Linked DNA regions of Homo sapiens: regions 2 and 3 are each linked to region 1. The links are contacts of gene promoters, found by promoter capture Hi-C in human tissues and cell types (Jung and others, 2019). All regions are on one chromosome and are shown on one strand. Each heading gives the region's core, a stretch centred on a gene start or on the middle of the fragment in contact. The rest is flanking DNA. Distances are from core to core; before and after follow the strand shown. Region 1 holds the start of MAP1B (microtubule associated protein 1B). Region 2 has its middle 34 kb from the start of CARTPT. Region 3 has its middle 100 kb from the start of CARTPT.

Region 1 (4,220 bases), core at 1,107-3,606:
TTGCCAAAGTTACCGAGCTGTAAAGTAGTATTCTGCATCCCTAGTCTGTGTTCTCCCATTATGCCTCTATTTTTCAAAGTGTGGGTGATGACTTAGGTGGTCACGGTCATGGTGTTTAATTGCACAGACACACACAGTAAGAAAGCGCTCTGTTATAATTTTCATCCAATCTTCTGTTGCAACATGGAGAACAACTCAGTTAGGTGTTAGTATCTCTTTAATACCTCTCTAACACTTGGCCAATCTCTGTTTTCAACCAAGAAAGGAGAGCCTTGGACTCAGAGTCTTGAGCAAATCATAACAGTATGTAGCAGGAATTTGATCACATCTTATCTTCATTGTGTATATTTTTAGGGATACTTTCTATTAATAAGTGATATTAGTGTTTCCATTTATACAGCAACATAGAATTGCATTTAAAAATAAATTTAAGTAAAAGAAATAAACTGCATAAAAGAAAACTATTACATACATAAAAGTAACAATGGTTCAAAGAAAGGAAAACCAAACACAAACTAGATGAGGCTGGAATCCAACGGATGACCTTTAGAAAACAGTGCTCTTCACCATATTTCCTGCCCCTCACCCCAGTTATGGGCTTTGGTGCTGGCCTTACTTCTTGAACAGCAATTGAATATCTTAACCAAAATATTATCTGGAAACACTTCATCTAGTTACTGGTGAATGCAGCTAGTTGGAAACACTTCATCTAATTACTGGTGAATGCAACTCTCTAGTGATCCTGTCACAGATCCCAAATACTGCGGGCCAGACGGTATTTTCATTCTGCATTGATCAGATTGACATGTTGGATGGAACCCCCCAGCCCTTGGCTGCCCAGCATGTCTCCCATGCCAGGGTGTCAGGAAAGATATAAGAGCAAAGAGTACATGACCAATAAGTCATGGCAGCTAACACCTAAGACACTGGGTTATTTTGGAAATCTTAAGAATATCTAGGTGATTATCTATCTATCTATCTATCTATCTATCTATCTATCTATCTATCATCTATATTTTACTAACAGGCATTCTAGTATTAAAGCTATGTTGACTAATTTCCATCTATTCCTCTTCCTTAAAGCTCGAATTCCCCAGTCTTCTATGATACCATGTTTGCACATTTTGCTCTTTCCTCACCCTCCTCCCCTTTTCTGGGACAGAAGCTATATTCAGTATGTTTGTGAGAAACGGTTGTAAATAGGCTGCCTTAAAAAAAAAAACAAAAAAACAAAAACAAAAAACACATTTTTTAGTTCTTCTAAACACAAACAAAGGCAATAAAAATTCCCAATGCTACAGGTATTTTAAAAGACATCATTGTCACGAGGTAATTTTGCTTGTGTGTTCCCCAAGGAACTGAAAAGTACATTATAGTCACTGTAACCCTGCTGAGTAGAGACAGTATCTTCTCTTTATTCTTTGTTATTACTGATACTATCTGTTCAGCACATTAAGGAAAGAAATTGGTATCTAATATAATACATCTGCATTTCTCTCATTTCCCATGAGCACCACAAAGCCAGTACTTTTTCATCCTTGGCCCTGCCAGAGTAGAATCCAAGGCCTGAACAATAGTAGGCTTAAGTTTTGCATTTTTGATGTATTCTTTAAGTGAAGGTGGTAAATATTGATATTGGTAAATATCAGTAAATTCGTCTTCTTAAAGCCACAAGGTCAAAGAAAAGACAGGTTCCGTCTTCCTAGGCGGGGTACCCACAGCCCCGCATCTGCCCACTGTGGCTATCCCAGTTCCTGAGAACCTGGCTACATCATACACAGCACACAAGGCAGAGGCCTGACTAGTGCAACTCCAACAAGAGAAAAGACCCCCACTCCGAAAATGGAAACTCATCCCATTCCCATGCACAGACAGGGTGAGGGTGAGGAGTGGGCAGTGGGTGTGTACGTGGTGGGTGGTGTAGGTTGAGAGCGTCTTCCCCCTTCACGGCTGCAGCAGGAGCTCAGCGGGCGCCCCAGCCCCTTGGCTCGCGGCCCTGCCCCGACCATTGTCCGCACACCTCGTCCCTCCAGCTTCCGGGCCGCGGGCGAGATGATTTGCTGCAGATGACATCAGCCCCGGGCCAACGGCTGGAAGAGCGGAGGCAGCCACCGCGTGAGGATGTGCCGGGTGGTCCTTTCCTCCTCCTCTTCCTCCTCCTCCCGGCTCCCTGCCTAGTCTCCATATAAAAGCGGCGCCGCCTCCCCGCCCTCTCTCACTCCCCGCTCCTCTCCGCCGCGCACTCTCCGCGGCGCTGGGAGAGGGCGGAGGGGGAGGCGGCGCGCGGCGCCAGAGGAGGGGGGACGCAGGGGGCGGAGCGGAGACAGTACCTTCGGAGATAATCCTTTCTCCTGCCGCAGTGGAGAGGAGCGGCCGGAGCGAGACACTTCGCCGAGGCACAGCAGCCGGCAGGATGGCGACCGTGGTGGTGGAAGCCACCGAGCCGGAGCCGTCCGGCAGCATCGCCAACCCGGCGGCGTCCACCTCGCCTAGCCTGTCGCACCGCTTCCTTGACAGCAAGTTCTACTTGCTGGTGGTCGTCGGCGAGATCGTGACCGAGGAGCACCTGCGGCGTGCCATCGGCAACATCGAGCTCGGTAAGTGGCCCCGCGCCCCCAGAGACGCGCGCTGGGAGACGCGCAAACACGACCCCACCCAGGGCGCGACGGTCACTGCGCTCCTCCCGCGCGCCCCGCACCCATGCCTCTCCTCGTCACCTCTCATACTTGGTCCAGACCCTTTCTGGGCTAATTAAGAATAATCCGAATTATTAGATATGAGACCCAGAGGGAGAGTCTCCAATAACCTTGAGGGATCTGTCACCACGCTGAGTCCGCAGCCTGTGCTGAGTTGGCCACCGCCTCTCCCGCTAAGTGAAATGCAGGTGTCAGGGGAGCAGAGGCCACAATAAAGCCGCAACCGCAGGAGGCAGAAGGGTGGGGGAGACCTGATGCAACCACTCCTTTCAGTCCTCTTCTGGCCTCAGGAAAAGGCTGGGACCCCCACCACCGCAGACCTGGGGCCGAAGCCCATGTGCCAGGGCCCGCGTGGGATTCATCCTCACCACGGCTACCTCAGCCCCTGAGAAACGCCTTTTCTGATTTCAAACCTCCCGATCCTTTCTTTCCTCAGAATGACTAGGCTAGTCCTAGGGCCACGCCCGCTCCCCCCGCCCCCCCCTCCCCGGGGAGATGCTGGGATGCAGAACCGCCTGCGCTTCGCCACCAGACAGAGCCCGCCTCGCTACCGCCCTTGGGGCCTTGGCTGCAGCTCTCAGAAAGGACAATGGGACCCCAAGTTGCGGGGTGGGGCTGCTGCTTTTAGAAGTCCCAGCCTCGGGAGTGGTAGCTTGAAGGGGGTCGGTGAGGGAGACGTCAGCGGGTAGGGTCAGCTCCTCGCCCGGTGCTCGCACCAGTGGCGCGCTCTGCGGAGGCCGAATAGCGGTACGCCGGGGACCCTGGGCGGGGCCGTGAGGGTCCGGCGGGCACAGCCTCGGGCGCACAGAGAGACCGCCCCCAGCCCCACCCGAGCTGCCGCAGTGCCTCCGGACCGCCCGCCACACCTGCCCCCCCACACTGCGGCGCCCCCGTCGGGCACGGCTGGCTGGGCTTGCGCTCCGCCCGGGCCTCGGGCTGGCGGGGGCCGCGCGCCCCCACCTCTCAGTTTGCCTGGCTTTGTTGCCCTGGGAGTCCCTGGGTGGGCAGCTCTGGTCTCTGCCTTTCCCTTTATCCCTGGCGTCCCGGCCCTCCCCTCGCTCCTGACAGAGGTCGCCGGGTCCCTCCGCAGCCCCAGCCCGCGCTCTATTCTCCTGGGGTGGTGCTGAAGCGTTTCTCCGGGAGACACCGGTTGGTGGGCGTGGTGCAGTCCGCACTGCGGTCTCTACGGCAGCCCGAGGCGGACAAAGGGCGTTCACGCAGCCCTCGTTCCCCACTCCCCCTCCCCAATAAAAGACGAAAGAAAAACCTTGTTTTAGATGAAAAAATAAATGCTTGTCATCTGCCTCTGCAGTTGGAAACGGCCACTTGTCCCCAGAACAAAAGGCTGCAGGGTGGGGACTGGAGTTGCAGACCTGGTTCTTTTGTTTAACTTTAAAGCACTTGATTTTCCCTTTTAGCTTAAAAAAAAAAAAGAAAAAAAATGTGAGCAGAAAGTCATAGTATTTTATTCCAAAAAATTCAAGAACAAGAGATATTTCAGTAGTGAAATGTCTTATTTGAGCA
Region 2 (4,220 bases), core at 552-3,051, 420 kb before region 1:
CAATGAAGTACTTCTTTTTGCTTATTGGAATTTTCTGAAATTTCTGAAATGAATCTGTATCATTATTGTAATAAGAAGGCATAATTTGTTTGTTACAGGCTATTTGGTTTTTTTCTTCCAATCCTTTCACAGTATTAAAATGCATAGCTTAACAAAATTTGCTTAACAGTAAATGTTGAGGATCGCTTGAACCCAGGAGTTGCAGGCTGCAGTGAGCCAAGATTGCACTCCAGCCTGGGGAACAGAGTGAGACTCTGTGTCAAAAAAAAAAAATTTTTTTTTAGTATGGATTACATCATGGAGGACGGGAGGCAGGACTAGATTGCAGCTCGAACTTGGAGGGACAGAGCAGCATGTGGAGGCTTGCATTGTGAATTTTAGCTCCAGAACAACTGCAGGAATAAATCAGGAAACCTGAGAGGACCCACAGACCCACTGAAGGAAGCAGATTGCTCCTACAGGACCTGGGAGACACCCCAAATACAGTGAGTGCCCAAGCTGTGTAAGTGGGAAAGGGAGATCATCTGCCCCCAAACACACACCCTCACTGGGGAAACTGAAGGTCTAGTTTATGGGAGAAGATTTCGACCTCACAAAGAGCTGAGGAAATTTAGAGAGCTGAGCAAAATACAGGGATGGAGGAAGCAGTGGGAAAGGCCCTGTGAGCTCACTAGTCCTCAAGCAGGCCATTCCTGCCTGGCATCACAGGGATCCCTTGGGAGGGTGGTCAGAGGCATAGGGGAAATGCCACAAGGAGAAGGAAGTCTCCAGCTGAACTTTGTAACAATTTGAACTGGTCAAGAAGCCTCCTGGCCAGATCTCAGGGGAGGGCATGAATCCGGAGTGCAGACTCCACAGGCGGGGGAAGAACTGAAACCTACTTTCTTTCCCAGCTGGGAGGTGGGTAGCCTGGGGCAAGTTCTCAGCCCTGCTTGCCCACTGCCTGGAAATAAGCTCAGTGCTGTTAGAGAGGGCATGGTGGGAGTGAGACCAGCCCTTTGGATGGCATGGGAGCTGGGTGAGGCCTGTGACTGCCGGCTTTCTCCCACTTCCCTGACAACCTGCGTGACTCAGCAGAGGCATCCATAATCCTCCTAGGTATATAACTACATTGACCTGGGAACCTCACCCCAATCCCCCACAATAGTCACAGCAAGACCTGCCCAAGGAGAGTCTGAGCTCAGATATGCCTAGCCCTGCCTACACCTGGTGGCCCTTCACTATCCACCCTGGTGTCTGAACACAAAGGTCATGTACTCTTGGGAGTTCTAGGGCCCCACCCACCACCGGTTCCTCCCCATACTACCACAGCTGATGCTCTCTGCAAAGCACCACCTCTCCTCAGGAGGCCAACCAGCACAAAAATAGAACATTAAACCACCAAAGCTAAGAACTCTCACAGAGTCCATTTCACCCCACTGCCACCTTCACTGTAACAGGTGCTGGTATCCACAGCTGAGAGACCCATAGTAGGTTCACATCACAGGACTCTGTGCACACAACCCCCAGTACCAGCCTGGAGCCTGGTAGACTTGCTGGGTGGCTAGATCCAGAAGAAAGATAACAATCACTACAACTTGGCTCTCAGGAAGCCACATGGATAGGAAAAGGGAGAGAGTACCACATCACGTGAACATCCATGGGACAAAAGAATCTGAATTACAGGCTTCATCCCTAGACCTTCCCTCTGACAGAGCCTACCCAAATGAGAAGGAACCAGAAAACCAACTCTGGTAATATGACAAAACAAGGCTCTTTAATACTCCCCCAAAATCACACTAGCTCACCAGCAATGGATCCAAACCAAGAAGAAATTCCTGATTTCCCTGAAAAAGAATTCAGGGGTTAGTTATTAAGCTAATCATGGAGGCACCAGAGAAAGACGAAGCCCAATGCAAGGAAATCCAAAAAATGATATAAGAAGTGAAGGGAGAAATATTCAGGGAAATAGACAGCATAAAGAAAAAACAACAAAAACTTCAGGAAACATTGGAGACACTTATAGCAATGCAAAATACTCTGGAAAGTCTCAGCAATAGAATTGAACAATTAGAAGAAAGAAATCCAGAGCTTGAAGACAAGGTCTTCGAATTAACCCAATCCAACAAAGACAAAAAAGAAAGAATAAGAAAATATGAATACAGCCTTCAAGAAGTCTGGGATGTTAAATGACCAAACCTAAGAATAATTGGTGTTCCTGAGGAAGAAGAGAAATCTAAAAGTTTGGAAAACATATTTAGGGGAATAATTGAGGAAAACTTCCCCAGCCTTGCTAGAGACCTAGACATCCAAATACAAGAAGCACAAAGAACACACGGGAAATTCACTGCAAAAAGATCATTGCCTAGGCACATTGTCATCAGGTTATCCAAAGTTAAGATGAAGGAAAGAATCTTAAGAGCTGTGAGAAAAAAGCACAAGGTAACCTATAAAGGAAAACCTATCAGATTAACAGCAGATTTCTTAGCAGAAATCCTACAAGCTAGAAGGGATTGGGGCCCTATCTTCAGGCTCCTCAAGCAAAACAATTACCAGCAAAAAATTTTGTATCCAGCAAAACTAAGCATCTTATACGAGGGAAAGATACAGTCTTTTTCAGACAAATGCTGAGAGAATTCGCTACTACCAAGCCACCACTACAAGAACTGCTAAAAGAGCTCTAAATCTTGAAAGAAATCCTGGAAACACATCAAAACAGAACCTATTTAAAGCATAAATCTCACAGGACCTATAAAACAAAACTATGATTTGAAAAACAAAAACAAAAAACCAAGATACACAGGCAACAAATAACATGATGAATGGAATGGTGTCTCACATTTCAACACTAACTTTGAATGCGAATGGCCTAAATGCTCCACTTAAAAGATGCAGAACTGCAGAATGGATAAGAATTCACCAACCAACTATCTGCTGCTTTCAAGAGACTCACCTAACACATAAGGACTCACATAAACTTGAGGTGAAGGGGTGGAAAAAGGCATTTCATGCAATGGACACTGAAAGCGAGCAGGAGTAGCTATTCTTATATCAGACAAAACAAACTTTAAAGCAACAGCATTTAAAAAAGTCAAAGAGGGTCACTATATAATATTTCCAACAGCAAAATATCACAATCCTAAACATATATGCACCTAACACTGGAGCTCCCAAATTTATAAAACAATTACTAATAGACCTAAGAAATGAGATAGACAGCAACACGATAATAGTGGGGGACTTCAATACTCCACTGATAGCACTAGACAGGCCATCAAGACAGAAAGTCAACAAAGAAACAATGAATTTAAACTATACCTTTGAGCAAATGGACTTAACAGATATATACAGAACATTCCATCCAACAACCACAGAGTACACATTCTATTCAACAGTGCATGGAACTTTCTCCAAAATAGACCATATGATAGGCCATAAAATGAGCCTCAATAAATTTAAGAAATTGAAATGATATCAAGCACTCTCTCAGACTATAATGGAATAAAACTGGAAATCAACTCCAAAAGGAACCTTCAAAACCATGCAAATACATGGAAATTAAATAACTTGCTCTTGAATGATCACTGGGTCAAAACCGAAATCAAGATGGAAATTAAAAAATTGTTTGAACTGAATGACAATAGTGACACAGCCTATCCAAACCTCTGGGATACAGCAAAGGCGGTTCTAAGAGGAAAGTTCATAACCTTAAATGCCTACATCAAAAAGACTGAAGGAACACAAAGTGACAATTGGAGGTTATATCTCAAGGAACAAGAGAATCAAGAACAAACCAAACCCAAACCCAGCAGAAGAAAGGAAATAACCAAGATCGGAGCAGAACTAAATGAAATTGAAACAAGAAACAATACAAAGGATAAATGAAACAAAAACCTGGTTCTTTGAAAAGATAAATAAAATTATAGAACGTTAGCAAGATTAACCAAGAAAAGAAGAGAGAAAATCCAAAAAACCTCAAAAAGAAACAAAACGGGAGATATTACAACTGACACCACAGAAATACAAAAGATAATTCAAGGCTCCTATGAACACCTTTACACACATAAACTAGAAAACGTAGAAGAGATGTATACATTCCTGGAAATACACAACCCTCCTAGCTTAAATAGGAAGAATTAGATACCCTGAATGACCAATAACAAGCAGCGAGACTGAAATGATAATTTAAAAACTACCAACAAAAAAAGTCTGGAACCAGAAGGATTCACAGCAGAATTCTA
Region 3 (4,220 bases), core at 1,111-3,610, 290 kb before region 1:
GTTGCTCAGAACAGTGCCTCACATATCATAAACCCTTAAAGAATATTAGCTATTACCAGGCCAGGCACAGTGGCTCACGCCTGTAATCCCAGCACTTTGGGAGGCCAAGGCGGGAGGATCACTTGTGGTCAGAAGTTTGAGACCAGCCTGGCCAACACAGTGAAACCCTATCTCAACTAAAAAAAAAAAAAAAATTAGCTATTATTATTCCTATGAAAATTTAAAAAGGAGCAAGAAAGCTAACCATTATTGTTCAACATTATTCTGGAAATTATAAAAAACAATTAGACATAAAAAAATATGTGAGGTCAAATACTGGAAAAGAAGATACAAAATTATCATTATTTATGGGTTATGTAGTTGGCCACCTGGAAAAAAATTAAAAAAAAATCAATGAAAAACTGTATAAAATTAAAAAGAGAATGGCCAAATCAACAATTTCCTTATCCATTGCAATAGCCATCTAAAATATAAAATAAATGGAGGGAGAAAAACCTCACAAGGGCCAAAGTATTTTTATAAGGGAAACTGCAGACATTTGAGAGCAGCTAAGACAAATGGGGTACTATTTTTGGATGGTGAGTATCACTATTGGAGAGATAGCAATTCTCCCACAATTAATTAAAAAATTTTTACACAGTTCCAGTCAAAATTCAAACATATTTTTGTAACCTAAAAATGATCCTCCAGTTTATCTGGGAGTATAAACAATGAGAACAGTAATAACAAATGTTAAAATAAGAATCATGGGGTATCTATTACCACCAGATGTCAGAACAAATTTATAAGGTCAACATGGTTTAAATATTTTTACTGATGGATAGACAAAAAGAAAAAAGTGGGAAAACCTTCAAAGTCTATAAATAGACCTTATGCATATATTTAAAAGTTAGTATGTAACAAAGTTTCCATTTCAAATTAGAGAGGAAAAGGTAGACAGTCCCATGAATGACTTTTCAGTGACTGACTAATCACCTGGGAAACAATTAAGTTAGCTTTCCTATCCTATGACTTACTCCAAAATGAATTCTTAACTGTTTAAGAATTAAGCATATATAAATATGAAACCATAAGAAAAGGTAAAATTATATAAATATTATATAATCTTGAGGTGAGGAAGAGAAAAGACTATGTAAGGAAGAAAACAAAGAAGAAGAACAGTAGATTTAAATACATAAAGATTAGAAATATTTGGTGTTGTAAAACGTTGCAAACAAAATGGAAATTGGGAAACATTTATAAAATAAATGATAGACAAAACACTGATATTTGTGTAGAAGATTTTTTATTTTTTAATTGACATGTAATAACGGTTCATATTTATTGAGTACCTAGTGCTGTTTCAATACATATAATGTATACTGATCAGATTAGGGTAATTAGCATATCCACGATCACAAACATTTGTCATTTCTTTGTGTTGGGAACATTCTTCCTTCCAGCTATTTGAAAGTATATAATATATTATGGTTAACTACAGTCATTTTGCGGAGTTATTGAACTTTAGAACTTATTCAGCTATCTAGATGTAAATTTTGTATCCTTTAAAAAAAAAAATCACCCTATCCCTTTCCCTTTCCCCTTCCCCTTCCCAGCCTCTGGTATCCTCTGGTCTACTTTTACTTCTATGAAATCAACGTTTTCAGCTTCCACATGTGAGTGAGGACATGCGATGTTTCTTGCCTTTCCTGGCTTATTTCACTTAATGTCTTCCAGCTCTATCCATGTTGCTGTAAATGACAGGATTTCACTCTCTTTTTTTTTGTGGCTGAATAGTATTCCATGTGTATATACACCACATTTTCTGTATCGTCAGTTGTTGGACACCTAGGTTGATTCCATATCTTGGCTACTGTGAATAGTGCTGCAGTAAACACAGAAGTCTCTTCGATATTCTGATTTCCCTTCCTTTGGCTAAATGCCCAATAGTGGGATTGTTAGATTATATGGTAGTTCTATTTGTAGTTTTTTTTAAAGGGACCTCTATACTGTCCTCCCTGTGGCTGTACTAATTTACATTCCCACTAACAATGTGTAAGAGTTCTCTTTTCCTTGTTTCTTCACCAGCACTTGTTATTTTTTCTCTTTTTGATTATAGCCATCTTAACTGGGGTGAGATCATACCTCTTTGCAGTTTTCACTTGCATTTCCCTGATGATTAGTGATGTTGAGCACTTTTATATATATTTGTTGGCCATTTGTATGTCTTCTTTTGAGAAATGTCTACTCAGATCATTTGCCCATTTTAAAATCAGATTTTTGTTGTTGTTGTTGAGTTGTTTGAGCTCCTTGTATATTGTGGATATTAATCATCTGTTGGATGCACAGTTTGCACATAATTTCTCCCATTCTTTAGGTTGTTTTTTCACTCTGTCGATTGTTCCTGTCATTGTGCAGAAGCTTTTTAGTTTGATATAATCCCATTTGTTTATTTTTGCTTTTATTGCCATGCTTTTGAGGTCTTATTCATAAAATCTTTGCCCAAACCAATGTCCTGAAGTGTTTTCCCTGTTTTCTTCTAGTAGTTTTATATTTTTGGGACTTACATTTATGTCTTTGATTCATTTTTTAAAACATTTTAATTTTTGTGGGTACATAGTGGGAATATATATTTAGGGGCATATGTGATGTTTTGATACAGGCATGCAACGTGAAATAAGCACATCATGGAGAATGGGGTATTCATCCCCTTAAGCATTTATCCTTTGAGTTACAAACAATACAATTACATGCTTTGAGTTATTTAAAAATGTGCAAGTAAGTTATTATTGATTTTAGTCACTCTGTTGTGCTATCAAATAGTAGGTCTCATTCTTTCTAACTAATTTTTGGCACCCATTAAACATCTGCAAGTATCCCCCAGCCTCCCACTACCCTTCTCAGCCTCTGGTAACCATCCTTCTACTCTCTATCTCCATGAGTTCAATTGTTTTAATTTTTAAATCCCACAAATAAGTGAGAACATGTGATGTTTGTCTTTCTGTTCCTGGCTTATTTCACTTAACATAATGATCTCCATCCATGTTGTTGCAAATGACTGGATCTCATCCTTTTTCTGGCTGAATAGTACTCCATTGTGTATATGTACCACATTGTCTTTATCCATTCATCTGTTGATGGACAGTTAGGTTGCTTCCAAATCTTAGCTATTGTAAACAATGCTGCAACAAATGTAGGAGTGCAGATATCTCTTTGATGTACTGATTTTCTTTCTTTTGGGCATTACCCAACTGTGGTATTGCTGGATCATATGGTAGATCAATTTTTAGTTTTTTGAGGAACCTCCAAATTGTTCTCCATAGTGTTTGTACTAATTTACATTCACATCTACAGTGTACAAGGGTTCCCTTTTCTTCACATCCTCACCAGCATTTGTTATTGCCTGTCTATTGGATAAAAGCCATTTTAACTGGGGTGAGATGATATCTCATTATAGTTTTGATTTGCATTTCTCTGATGATCAATGATGTTGAACACCTTTTTAAATACCTGTTTACAATTTATATGTCTTCTTTTGAGAAATTTCTATTCAGATCTTTTGCCCATTTTTAATTGGATTATTAGATTTTTTCCATAGAGTTGTTTGAGCTCCTTATATATTCTGGATATTAATCCCTTGTCAGATGGGTAGTTTGCAAATATTTTCTCCCATTCTGTGGGTTGTCTGTTTACTTTGCTGATTGTATCCTTTGCTTTGCAGAAGCTTTTTAACTTGATGTGATCCCATTTGTCCATGTTTGCTTTGGTTACCTGTGCTTGTAGGGTAGTGCTCAATAAATTTTTGCCCAGATTAATGTCCTGGAGATTTTCCCCCATGTTTTCTCGTAGTAGTTTCAAAATTTGAGGTCTTAGACTTAAGTCTTCAATCCATTTTGATTTTATTTTTGAATAAGGCAATAGATAGGGGTCCAGTTTCCATTATTTTGCATATGAATATCTAATTTTACCAGCACTATTTATTGAAGAGACTGTCTTTTCTCCTGTGTATGTTCTTGGCAGCTTTGTCAAAAATGAATTCACTGTAGGTGTGTGGATTTATTTTTGAGTTCTCTATTCTATTCCATTGGTCTATGTGTCTGCTTTTATGCCAGTACTATGCTGTCTTGGTAACTATACCTCTGTAGTATAATTTGAAGTCAGGTAAATATGATTCTTCCAGTTTTATTCCTTTTGCTTAGGATAGCTTTGGGTATTCTGGGTCTTTTGTGGTTCCATATAAA

What was found. The method cuts DNA at HindIII sites, captures the fragments that hold promoters and counts their contacts. A contact is called where the count stands out against the background at its distance.
Region 2: a contact is called between a fragment that was not itself captured here and the fragment with the promoter of MAP1B in region 1, in 1 of the 25 tissues and cell types used here (lymphoblastoid cells).
Region 3: a contact is called between a fragment that was not itself captured here and the fragment with the promoter of MAP1B in region 1, in 1 of the 25 tissues and cell types used here (dorsolateral prefrontal cortex).

What each region holds. Positions count from the first base shown.
Region 1 is chr5:72,105,119-72,109,338 of GRCh38, forward strand. It overlaps MAP1B (microtubule associated protein 1B), which reads left to right and starts at 2,357. Exons shown (of 7, transcript NM_005909.5): 1 at 2,357-2,597. The coding sequence starts at 2,414. LOC105379028 (a long non-coding RNA gene) reads right to left here. Exons shown (of 3, transcript XR_007058813.1): 1 at 3,657-4,220; 2 at 2,807-2,869. RefSeq lists enhancers at 2,276-3,258, 3,664-3,958. The HindIII fragment of the contact is 7,344 bases long and covers 954-4,220 here.
Region 2 is chr5:71,683,264-71,687,483 of GRCh38, forward strand. No RefSeq gene overlaps it. Among named protein-coding and RNA genes, the nearest start is that of CARTPT, 34 kb to the right of the region's middle. The HindIII fragment of the contact is 4,509 bases long and covers 1-4,056 here.
Region 3 is chr5:71,819,196-71,823,415 of GRCh38, forward strand. No RefSeq gene overlaps it. Among named protein-coding and RNA genes, the nearest start is that of CARTPT, 100 kb to the left of the region's middle. The HindIII fragment of the contact is 3,769 bases long and covers 477-4,220 here.